3 separate regions of the Homo sapiens genome follow, and all the other regions are linked to region 1. Evidence: promoter capture Hi-C in 16 types of primary human blood cells and fetal thymus (Javierre and others, 2016). All regions are on one chromosome and are shown on one strand. The core of a region is centred on a gene start or on the middle of the fragment in contact, and the rest is flanking DNA. Distances in the headings are between cores, read along the strand shown. Region 1 holds the start of LILRA6 (leukocyte immunoglobulin like receptor A6). Region 2 has its middle 11 kb from the start of LILRA5. Region 3 overlaps CNOT3 (CCR4-NOT transcription complex subunit 3).

Region 1 (3,603 bases), core at 845-3,344:
CGCCCATCCCCTGTCTCTGTCTGTCTCTCCCTCCCTTGGGACCCCCACCCCTCATCCCGGCCATCACCACCTGGGCTCCCCCGGCAGGGCCTGTGCAGAGCCTGGGTCCCTGACTGAACCCGCTGGGCTCCTCACCTGCCATCAGGATGTTCAGGGGGTCGCTGGGGGCCGACCACTCGGAGGAGAGGTTGTGTGCACCATAGCACCTGTACTGGCCCCCGTGGGAGGGGCTCACAGGGCCCAGGGTGAAGTTGGCCTGGGAGAGCCCAGCCTGGGGCTGCTGGCCAGGGCGCTGGAGGAAGTCACGTTCCCCCTCCTTATACAGAACAAATCTGTCGTAGCCGACATCAGAGCCACACTGGAGGGTCAGGCTCTGCCCAGGGGCCAGGACAGGGCCCTGCAGGGTCAGGAGGGAGGGCTTCCTAGACACGCCTGGAGGGAAAGAGGAGCCAGGACTGAGAGGGCTGGTTCCTCCCACGCCCCTTCCTTCTCCCGTCCTGGCCCTGCAGGTCTCACTGTCTCTCATGCTCTGAGTCTCTGACCCCAGGGCCTCCTTCTCACCCGGGGCTGTCTTGGAGTCATTTCAGAGGAGTGGGGTCTCCCTAGCCCTGGCCACTGTGCCTGATCTTTCCTCCTCTCCCTGAGAGCTGGGACCTCACAGCAAACACACCGATGCCTTCCTGAGTCCTCCCCGTTCAGGTGAGCGTGGCTGAGGGCTCCTCCTCCCATGTCAGAGCCTCCCCATGGGGTCTCCCTCATGCCTTCAGCCCGTCCTTCAACACATCACTCTGGGTCCTTTCCAGATTCAGTCACCAGCCAAACTCCCCACAACCTGTCAGCTGCCCCGAAAGTGTGTTAGACAAGGCCGTGGCTCCCTCACCTGAGGGCAGAATCTCCAGGGGGTCACTGGGGTGGGACCACACCCGGGGGGTGTTCATATAATAGTAATAGCATGTGAACCTCCACCTGTGGCTGGGGTTCACGGGGCCCACAGGGAACAGGGCCTGGAACCCCCCACTGTGGAGCTGCTGTGAGTCCAGGGTCCGGGGGAGCTGGTGTTCTCCTTCCTTCATCAGAACAAAATGGTGATATCCCTTCTGTGAGCCACATTGGAGGGTCATATTCCCCCCTGAGGCCACCACAGGGCTGGGCAGGGCTGAGAGGGTGGGTTTGCTATAGGCTCCTAGGAGAGAAAGAGGCACCATGTTAAATGGGGCTCCCACCTCCCACATCATCCCCAGGGCTGGGCTGTGAGAGGGAGACACCCCTGAGAGCCGACCCCCTTCCTGAGGGCAGAGCCTGGGGCTGGGACCCCAGAGTGTCCTCTCACCTGTCATCACCAGCTCCAGGGGGTCGCTGGGCTCTGACCAGCCTGCAGAGCTGTAATAGTGGCAGCGGTATCTCCCCGCATGGTGCTCTGTTATGGATGGGATGGAGAATCTGGCCTTGTTCTTGGGTTCCAGTGGGTTATTTCTGTCCCAGGGCTCTGGGCTTCCCTCTTTATCCAGTCGGTACTCCTGGGCCTCCAGGCTCCCCTGACACCAGATGGTCACGGGGCTCCCCCAGCTGATCACAGAGCCTGGCTCAGCCCAGAGGGTGGGTTTGGGGAAGGGCCCTAGATGGAAATCAGAGGCTGGATCCCAAGACATCCCCACGCTCAGATCCCAGCTCCCAGCCCCAGGACTTCCTCATCATCCCCATCAGTCACCCAGAACTACTGTCTCCTCCCCACCCAGAACTGCTGTCTCCTCCCCCAGCTGCCCATGTGTGGCCCTTGTCCCTAGTAAGGATGAGGGACCTGGGACAGCTGGGGACAGACTCACCTGCCTGCACGTGGGTCCTGGGGCCCAGACTCAGCCCTGGAAGAGAATTCCCTGTGAGGCATTTGCCCTGAAGCCTGAGCAGGTCCTCCCCGCCCTGGTGCCTCCTGAGCTTTTGAGGTCTCCTGATGGACCAGGGCTTGTGTGTGGGGTGGGGTTCCTCCAAGACTCAGATCTCCCCCTCCCCATCTTGAAATCTCACCTAGGCAGAGCAGGGCTGCGAGGGTGGGGGTCATGGCGTCTCCTCCTGGTGACCCCGGGCTCTGCAGAGGGATGAGCCCTCAGTGCTGGCAGGACAGAGAGACACACAGGGTGTGGCCGCTCGGAGGCTGGGTCCTTCTTGTCATGGGGTTGTCTCATCCTCAGCCCACAGGAAGAGGAACTGCCACCCCAGGAACCTGGCTCTGATTTCCCCAGGGCTGAAGTGGGGGCAGGCACCAGGCTCTCTGCAGGCATTTCAGAGAGAAATGGGGTCTCCCTGCCCCCGGGCCACTGTCTGCCTGATTTATCTTTATCTCACTGAGAGCTAGGACACAGCAGCAAATAGAACCAGTGCCTTCTGGAGTCAGCCCCTTTGAGGCGAGGGTGACTGTGGGCTCATCCTCCCTCTCAGAGCCTCCCCATGGGGTCTCCCTCCCTCCTTCAGCCCGTCCATCAGCTCAGCGTTACGGGGTCCTTACCATGGCAGTCGTCTCTCCAGCCCTGGAGATGCTTCAGGGAAGACCCAGGTCCATGCTGCAGGCAGACTCAGATCAGCAGAGACGCACCTGACACCTGGCTGTGTAGTCCAGGCTGAGCTGCGTGTAGCAGTGAGCACAGAGGAGAAATGCAGCGTCTACCGTGGTGGCTCATGCCTGGAATCCCAGCACTTCAGGAGGCTGTGGCGGGTGATGGCTTGAGGCCAGGAGCTTCAGACAGTCCTGGGAAACAGACTGTGACCCTGTTTCTACAGAAAAGAAAAAAGTGAGCTGGGCATGGAGGCTCATGCCTGTGGTCCCAGCTACTCAGGAGGCTGAGGTGGGAGGACCACCTGGGCCCGGGAGGCGGAGGCTGCAGGGAGATATGATCACCCCTTGGCCTTCCAGCCTGGGCGACAGCGCAGGATCCTGTCTGAAAAGGAGAAATAGAGGGGATAAAGAGAAATATATATATATATATATATATGTTTCATTGTAATCTATAATCTGATTCTGGGGAAGGTGAGCTGATTTGTATTTAATTCCTGATTATCATCTAGGGTTTATGAGACTTTGGACATGAATGTCACCTCTGAGCCTGCTGTCGTGAACCCCACTCATCACAGTGGCTGTGGGGGTCAGTGGTGCCCAGGACATGGGAGGCTCAGCCATGGTGAATTTCCAGACCAGTTCAGACAGGAGGGTGGGGACGGGAGAGGATCCTGGTGCTGGGCTCCACAGTTGAGGAGGATGATTGACGCCCCCATTCAAGAGCCCACATTGGCTCCAAATACCATGAAATTCTTGTGATACGTCTGAAATATGCAGATCATCACAGCCACAGGCCGAGAAAGAGGAAGAACAGTTCCTCACATTGAGACGCATCCCCTTCCATGAGCAGAGTTCAATGCTGAGTGGCCACAGGTGTCTGGGACCACCGAGCGTCATTAGGGAGGAGGAGGCTCCCACCTCCATGTGGGACAGAAGAGGAACCCCACGTCCTCCCAGGCAGGGAGGGGTCAGGGCTCTGGGTGAGGCTGGAAGCGGTGGCTCCCCCTCCCCTGTGTGTGTGGACAGGCGCTGGGGGGTCTCTGCTCACTCACTGG
Region 2 (3,872 bases), core at 999-3,498, 82 kb after region 1:
CACTCCTGTCATCCCAGCTACTCGGGAGGCTCTGACAGGAGAATTGCTTGAACCTGGGAGGTGGAGATTGCAGTGAGCTGAGACTGTGCCACTGCATTTGTAGGGACCAGCCCCACAGGGTCGGTGGGTCTCTCCCTGTGTGTGGTGACGATAGAGTGTAGAAATAAAGACACAAGACAAAGAGATAAAAGAAAAGGCAGCTGCGCCCGGGGGACCACTACCACCAATGCGCGGAGACCGGTAGTGGCCCCGAATGTTGGGCTGCGCTGTTATTTATTGGATACAAGGCAGAAGGGGCAGGGTAAAGAGTGTGAGTCACCTCCAATGATAGGTAAGGTCACGTGGGTCACGTGTCCACTGGACAGGGGGCCCTTCCCTGCCTGGCAGCCGAGGCAGAGAGGGAGAGGAGACAGAGAGAAAGACAGCTTACGCCATTATTTCTGCATATCAGGGACTATTAGTACTTTCACTAATTTACTACTGCTATCTAGAAGGCAGAGCCAGGTGTACAGGATGGAACATGAAGGCGGACTAGGAGCGTGACCACCGAAGCACAGCATCACAGGGAGACGGTTAGGCCTCCGGATAACTGCGGGCGAGCCTGACTGATGTCAGGCCCTCCACAAGAGGTGGAGGAGCAGAGTCTTCTCTAAACTCCCCCGGGGAAAGGGAGACTCCCTTCCCCAGTCTGCTAAGTAGCGGGTGTTGTTCCTTGCCACTTACGCTACCGCTAGACCACGGTCCGCTTGGCAACGGACGTCTTCCCAGACGCTGGCGTCACCGCTAGACCAAGGAGCCCTCTGGTGGCCCTGTCCGGGCATGACAGAGGGCTCGCACTCTTGTCTTCTGGTCACTTCTCACTGTGTCCCCTCAGCTCCTATCTCTGTATGGCCTGGCTTTTCCTAGGTTATGATTACAGAGGGAGGATTATTATAATATTGGGATAAAGGGTAACTGCTACAAACAAATGATTAATGATATTCATATATAATCATAACTAAGATCTATATCTGGTATAACTATTCTTGTTTTATATTTTATTATACTGGAACAGCTCGTGTCCTCTGTCTCTTGCCTCGGCACCTGGGTGGCTTGCCACCCACAGCATTCTAGCCTGGGCGACGAGCAAGACTCCGTTTAAAAATATATATATATACATATATAAACATATTCCTGAATGTCTATACTATAAAATATTTTTAAATATAACTTATAAATCTAAAGATAATACCTTAAAAAAGGAAATAGAATTGAGTTCCTATCAAATTAGGGCATTACTAAACAAGGAAGAATTATTTGTACTAGAATGTAAGCAAAATTACTTGACCATATATTTTATAATGCATATATTATTTATCATATTATATAATAAATGTATACTTTTAAATCAAATTATATATTATGTAGTGACATATAGTTAATATTATTATATAATTTTGACTATATATAGTAAAACATAAGTGAATACACCCTCAAAAATGTTTAATTCTTAAAATATGTATGGTCAAAAATTCTAAATTTCATCCTAGAGAAATAGCTGACTCCACATTCGGAGAGAAAATACAGGAGATGAAGTCAGAACTTCTTATCATGCAAGAAAGCAAAGACATCACCACATACCATCAGATTCATGTTACCTGAACATAAAGTCTATCATGAAAAGTTCCCAATGGCAAAATGTGGAATATTTATAGAATCAAATAATATAGGTAGTGTATTAAAACTAATGAATATGTTCAAAGCCTATCAGTTTACTACTGTTAAAAACAAAATTAAAAAACAAAAAACCCCTCAAATATGAGGAATGGGAAAAGAACAAAATCTCCACATCAAAAACGTGGAAATGAAGGCAAGAAGCAAGATCTCTTTTGTTTATCTGAAGTGTTACACAGGAAACATTCTTTTCTGTAGAATGTTTCTACATAATAATAAGTATAGTAATAGCTATAGTAATGTTTTTGCCTAAGAATAGCTGTAGAGTTTTTGCATAATAATAGTTAACCCTGCAAAGCTTGGATAACCTGTGCGTTGAGTATACAAGCAATAAACATCAATGGCTGCCAAAACCCTTAGGCTGAAGGTTGATAGTGAATATAATAACGAGTGGATCCTGCTGATAGTACAGCCATCAGTACAGAATTGCAAGGTGGAGAATGCAAGACACAAGCAAATGAGCCATTGTGTCTCACTTCTGACATTTTCTAAGCATCTTTTTCACCATACCCTCAAATCTAGACCGTTATCTGGCTGGGCGTCTCTATGTTTCTTGGATTTGTGTGTCAAACTCTCTAGCGAGTTTAGGAAAATATTCATGGACTATATCCTCAAATATATTTTCCAAGTTGCTTATTCTCTCTTCCCCTTTCAGGAATGCTGACAAGTCATACATTTGGTGTCTTTAGATAATATCATATTTCTCAGAGATTTTGTTCACTTTTAAAAATATTTTTTCCTTATATTTGACTGATTTGATTCAAACAAGTCTTCAAGCTTTGAAATTCTTTTCCTCAGCTTGGTCTATTCTGCTGTTAATGCTTCTCATCGTATTATGAAATTCGTGTCATGAATTTTTCAGCTCGAGAAGTTCAGTTTGGGTGTTTCTTAAAATTTAATCGTTCATGTCATTAATCATTTTACTGGATTGCTTGGCTTCCTTGGATTGAATTTCAACTTTGCTCTTGATTTGAATGACCTTCCTTGCCATCCAGATTCCAAATTCTACGTTTGTCATTTCAGACAATTCATACTGATTAAGAACAATTTCTGGGGAGCTCGTGGACTGGTTTGGAGATAATAGGAGTTATTTCCCTGATTTTTTTTCTCATCTGGGAGGGTTGCTATTCCTTTCATTGCAAGGGTATAAATTGAGTATAGTCTGTTGGCTTTATTTCTGGAAGTTTTCAGGGGACTAAGGCTCTGTACAGGGTCTTTGCTGAATTCTTGCTCTTGGTTTTCCAGGCGGTAGAATTTAGTAAAGTGATTTTTGGTGTTGTAGTGTGGCTGTAATCCAGTAGATGGCGCTTGAGAGCAATAGGCAATAGACAGGCTCTTACTCCACTGCGTGGTGCCTTTGTTTATCTTTGTTCTTGACCTTGATACTTTTGAAAAGGTCAGAGCAGTTTTTTTGTTTTTGTTTTTTGAGACAGGGTCTCACTTTGTCACCCAGGGTGGAGTGCAGTGGCACGATCTTGGATCACTGCAGCCTCAACCTTCCCAGGCTCAGGTAGGTGACAGAGCAGGCAAGTTAACTTAAGGCCTCCTCCTTGGCAATCTGGTCTCAAGTAGGGGACAGGTCCCCACAGACAGAACTGAGGGGCAAGTGTGGCATGGGCTCCAGACCCCGAGCACTGGAATTAGACACCTCTCCTTTGCAGAAAGGTTTAGCCTTTCCTCAAGCGGTTCTGCAAAGGAGAGGTGTAGCTGGGGTGGCGTGGGCAATGGTGGTGGCAGAGTTTGTGTGAAACTTGTCTCTTCCCCAATCACTGTCACTTGTTTCAGGAGACGTTGTAATGTGCTGTATGGTTTGACCTCCAGGCCAGTAGGTGGCAATTGCTGGTGAGAGCCAGTTGTAGCGCTGGCAGTGGGCTTTATGCTTGACCTTTGTTAACCAGAAGCATTCAGGTATCCTAAGTGATGGGTTGGGTTGTGGAAAACTCAGTGGTCTTGATCAGTACTCTGCCTCCAACGCAGGGAAATGAAGGTAAGTGTGGCTGGTCCAGGCAAGCCTGTACTCAGGCCCAATGCTAGGCACAGGCTCCGTCCCCACAGAGGCTACATGTGTGGTTCTCAGGTCCCTGGAGAGACACTCAAGCACTGAGTAGGGCAATGACTATTATGCCAAAGTTACAGCAGAGTTCCCCAGAGGGGCACGT
Region 3 (3,548 bases), core at 1,049-3,548, 100 kb before region 1:
CTAGACCCGGGTTCCTGTACTGCGAGGTGGGGGCTCTTCCCTCTGGGGCTGTGCCTTCTCTCCAGGGTAAGGACCCTTTCTTGGTGTCACCTCCCCCAGGGATAAGGTTCTTGCCATCCTTGGTATTGGTATGGCTGCTTTTCTGGATTTGAGGTGTCCACGCCTCTGCATGTGTCCCCACCGTAAGGCTGAGGACCCCTCTCGGATGCAGGTGCCCCCGGCTAATGCTTCCAAAACCCCCTCTTGATTTGTCACTGTATGGGGTAAGGCATAGTTTCCTGGCTGTGTGGATGTAAGATACCTGAGTCTCAAGCGGGAGACTCCACTGTAGACCCTGTCCCTGGGACCAGAGACTTCTCTGGTGTAGACTTTCCAAGGTGGGAGATTCCAGCCCCCCACCCTTGGCATGGGGCATCTCAGTGGAGATGACTACCTCTACCCCAGGCCCTAACGCATCCTTCTTCTGGAGTCTCAGAGCCTCTGTGTGGCCACGTCAGCAGCCACCTGGGTTAAGGATCACCCTTCAACATCACTTCTCAGAGCTCCTTGCTGCAGAGGCGGAAGCTCTCCCAGATCAAAGGTGCCTCATGACAAAGACCACTCTGTGGGCACATGACGGCCCCCAAGGTTAAGGACCACCCGGTGTTAGTTTCCCAGGGCTGACCTCCTGCCCCTCCCTCCTCGAGTCTTTGTGTGGTGGTATCATCTTCCCTGAGATGAAGTCTGGGGGGCTCTTCTTTACTGGTTTTGGCTCTGATTTTAGCGTGTTGGCTCCTGTGAGGCTGGTGTCCTGCTCACCTCCCCCCACCCCGCCACCCGCCTTGTGGGTCCCTTCCCTGTGGGGATGTGTGTTCCTCTTGGGTAAGTCTCCTCCTGGGCCGAGGTTCCCAGATTCCTCAGTGCTCTTGGAGAGCCTTTGCTGCTGGAGCACAGGTTCTTCACGCCTGAGAGTGGACCTGCGATCACCACCTTCCTTGGAGGATCTTGGTGGATGCCCCCCTGACTACAGCAAATGGGGCTCTTTCTTCTCTGGCGGCGTCTCTGCTTCGAGACTCAGGCTCCAGCTTCCCTTCTCTCTGGTCCTTTGCTGGGGGGACCAGAGGTACAGATACCCTCATGATATAGGGATTTTCTTAGCGGGGAAGGTGTTGTCTCTACTGTGGCTAAGGCTCCAGCCTCTCTAGGGGACAAGTACCCTGGGCCTCTGGCACTTGCCCCTTCTCTGTGGAGGAGCTGCCTCCTCACTGGGTCTCAGCTGTAGCCGACTTCGATGTCACACTGTTCTGTCTGAAACATCACCTCCCTGGGTTAGCGCTCTTGTTCCCCTCCTCCTGGCTTGTGACCCCTCCAGGACTTCCTTCTCTTGCTGCCACAGTGTGGTCTCCTGTCTGTGGGTATTCTTCCTCTGCACTAGGATACCAGTCCTTTCCGTGTGGAGACACAGGGAGGGCGTCACCTGCCTAAGGTGTTGATTGCCTTGTTTAGGGGTGTAGACCATGAGACCTCTTCTCTCTCTGGGCTGGAGCACCTGCCCATGACCCTCTGTTGGGTTCTTGGGATGGAAAGAGGGAGTGTAAACTCTCGTTTCACATTCTTGTTCCCCCTATGCAGTAAGAGGCTTTTCTGTGTTGGGGTGTTGGACTTTGGTGAGGATCCCTGCACACCTGAGCTCTGGTGTCCAGGCCCTTGCCTTGTGTGAGCTCCCTGGGTCAAAGAGGCTTTCCCCTCCTCAGCCTGAATCCCCACTGTGGCACCTTCTCCTGGGTCCTTTTGTTGGTTGCTTTGCCTTCTTAGAGATTCCCCAGGTAGGGCGTGATAGCTGACCTGGGCGGGGGCTGCTGCGGCTTTCTTTAGGTTGGGCCTTTTACTGAGGAGATTTAAATTCCCTCAAGTGTAAGGTAGCACCCCTACCTATTATCACCCAGAATGGGTCCCTGCGGTGTTGGGAAAATTCTCCCTGGGGGTAAGGTACCAGCCCTGTCCTTTGTGGGCTTCTTGTTCTAAAGCATATCCGTCCCATATGGTTGCTGCTAGTCACATGTGGTGATTAGTAACTAGTTAAAAATGAAAAATTCAGTTCCTCCATTACACTTGCCACATTTCAGATGTTCAGTGGCCAACAGATATGCGCAAATAGAGTGTTTCCAGCATTGCAAAGTTCTGTTGGATAGCACTGTTTGCCAGATGTTCCCTTCTTTGTGGGTGAGGACTCTTTTGGTGTGACTTCCCTCTGTATTGAGGCTCTTGTTCCTCAGTATGGGGCTGTTTCTGTCTTTACAGTAAGTGACTACTCCAGGGTTCCCTGCCCTGCACACGTAGAGTGGGAGCGGCCCGTGGATCCCAGGGAACTGTGCTTTTCATTGTAGGCCCCCTCCCTGGAGGGGAAGAGGGCAATCTCCGCTGGTATCTCAGAAGTCTTCTTCTGAGGCATAAGCCTCTCTTCCCAGGGCTCCCCTGGTCTCGCTGTCAGGCCCTAAGGTATGTCTTCCCTTGGACTAAAGCTCCTTGGAACTCCCTTTTGACCTCAGTCTTCTCTGGGTTCCAGGTAACTTCCTTTAAAATAAAGACGCTCCTCTCTTGAAGTTTTGGGTTCCTGCCCTGATGGTCTATGTCTCCCTGACTCTAAATTACCAATCCACTTGCTATGGGATTCCTCCGTGAGTGCAGATCGGCTCCCTCACAGCTGCGGTACCTTTGCACCCTCTTATCTTAGTAAGATTTCTGTCTTCTCCCAGGTCTCTCTTGGGTACTGCCTTCTGCCCCCAAATCTCTAAGCCTTCTTGGTATTAGCTTCTTTGGGTTAGGAGTGTTATTTCCTTTTGGTTTAAGGATCCTGCTCTGGAATAAATGTCTTGGTGGTTTGAGTCCCTTCTACTTGGCATTCAGCCCTGTCTGCATGAGCGGGTTCAGCTCTTCACAGCTTTCGGCATCTCTGCTCGCCGTCGTTTTCCCCCACCCCCAATCTTTCTTCTCCTACCTACAGCTTACACACACACACACACACGCCCTTCTCTGTGAGCTGCCAGTTTCATTTGTCTCCTGACTTGTCTGAGGGATGACCTCTCCTAGCCACCTCTGCCCAGCCCCTCTGAGTAGGAAGTGTGATCTCCAGGGCTAATGCCTCCATCCCAGTCATCAGCTGTGTGCAGCATGACTGTCCTGCTCTGAAAAACCTTTTTGAGTGTATTCTGGGGAGAAGGTACTCCATGCTCTAGGAATTTTCCACTTCCTGAGTCAGAGGCACACAAAAAAGTATGTAACTTTTCTTGTTTCAACAAACTTATGGGGTCCCCTGTTGGCCAGACACTATGCTGGGCAGTCAAGCGAGCATCAGGAGAACTGGGGCTGGTCTCTTGTCAGATAGCAAATGCTTCTTCTCTTTACCAGTCCCACCTACCTCACTATGCTGACTAGGTCCATGTCTCTGGGTTTTTACCAGCCAGGGAATACGTGTTAATTCCTCTCCAATCTCTCCTAGCAGCGTCCGTCTCCAAGAGAGTATGAAGAGAGTGCGTCTGTAGGGCAGGGAAGATGGCGGACAAGCGCAA

Evidence for each region. The method cuts DNA at HindIII sites, captures the fragments that hold promoters and counts their contacts. A CHiCAGO score of 5 or more calls a contact.
Region 2: a contact is called between a fragment that was not itself captured here and the fragment with the promoter of LILRA6 in region 1, in 2 of 17 cell types (M1 macrophages and M0 macrophages). The highest score is 6.6, in M1 macrophages.
Region 3: a fragment that was not itself captured here is called in contact with the fragment with the promoter of LILRA6 in region 1 in 1 of 17 cell types (neutrophils); the score reaches 7.4 in neutrophils.

The regions. Positions count from the first base shown.
Region 1 is chr19:54,240,696-54,244,298 of GRCh38, forward strand. LILRA6 (leukocyte immunoglobulin like receptor A6) reads right to left here and starts at 2,095. Exons shown (of 8, transcript NM_024318.5): 1 at 2,023-2,095; 2 at 1,824-1,859; 3 at 1,331-1,615; 4 at 881-1,183; 5 at 136-432. The coding sequence starts at 2,056. LOC107987463 (a long non-coding RNA gene) reads right to left here. Exons shown (of 3, transcript XR_007067341.1): 3 at 2,698-2,766. RefSeq lists an enhancer at 3,170-3,603. The HindIII fragment of the contact is 25,461 bases long and covers 1-3,603 here.
Region 2 is chr19:54,322,284-54,326,155 of GRCh38, forward strand. No RefSeq gene overlaps it. Among named protein-coding and RNA genes, the nearest start is that of LILRA5, 11 kb to the left of the region's middle. RefSeq lists a silencer at 2,894-3,188. The HindIII fragment of the contact is 479 bases long and covers 2,010-2,488 here.
Region 3 is chr19:54,139,448-54,142,995 of GRCh38, forward strand. CNOT3 (CCR4-NOT transcription complex subunit 3) reads left to right here. Exons shown (of 18, transcript NM_014516.4): 2 at 3,482-3,548. The coding sequence starts at 3,532. Among named protein-coding and RNA genes, the nearest start is that of CNOT3, 3.5 kb to the left of the region's middle. The HindIII fragment of the contact is 4,608 bases long and covers 1-3,548 here.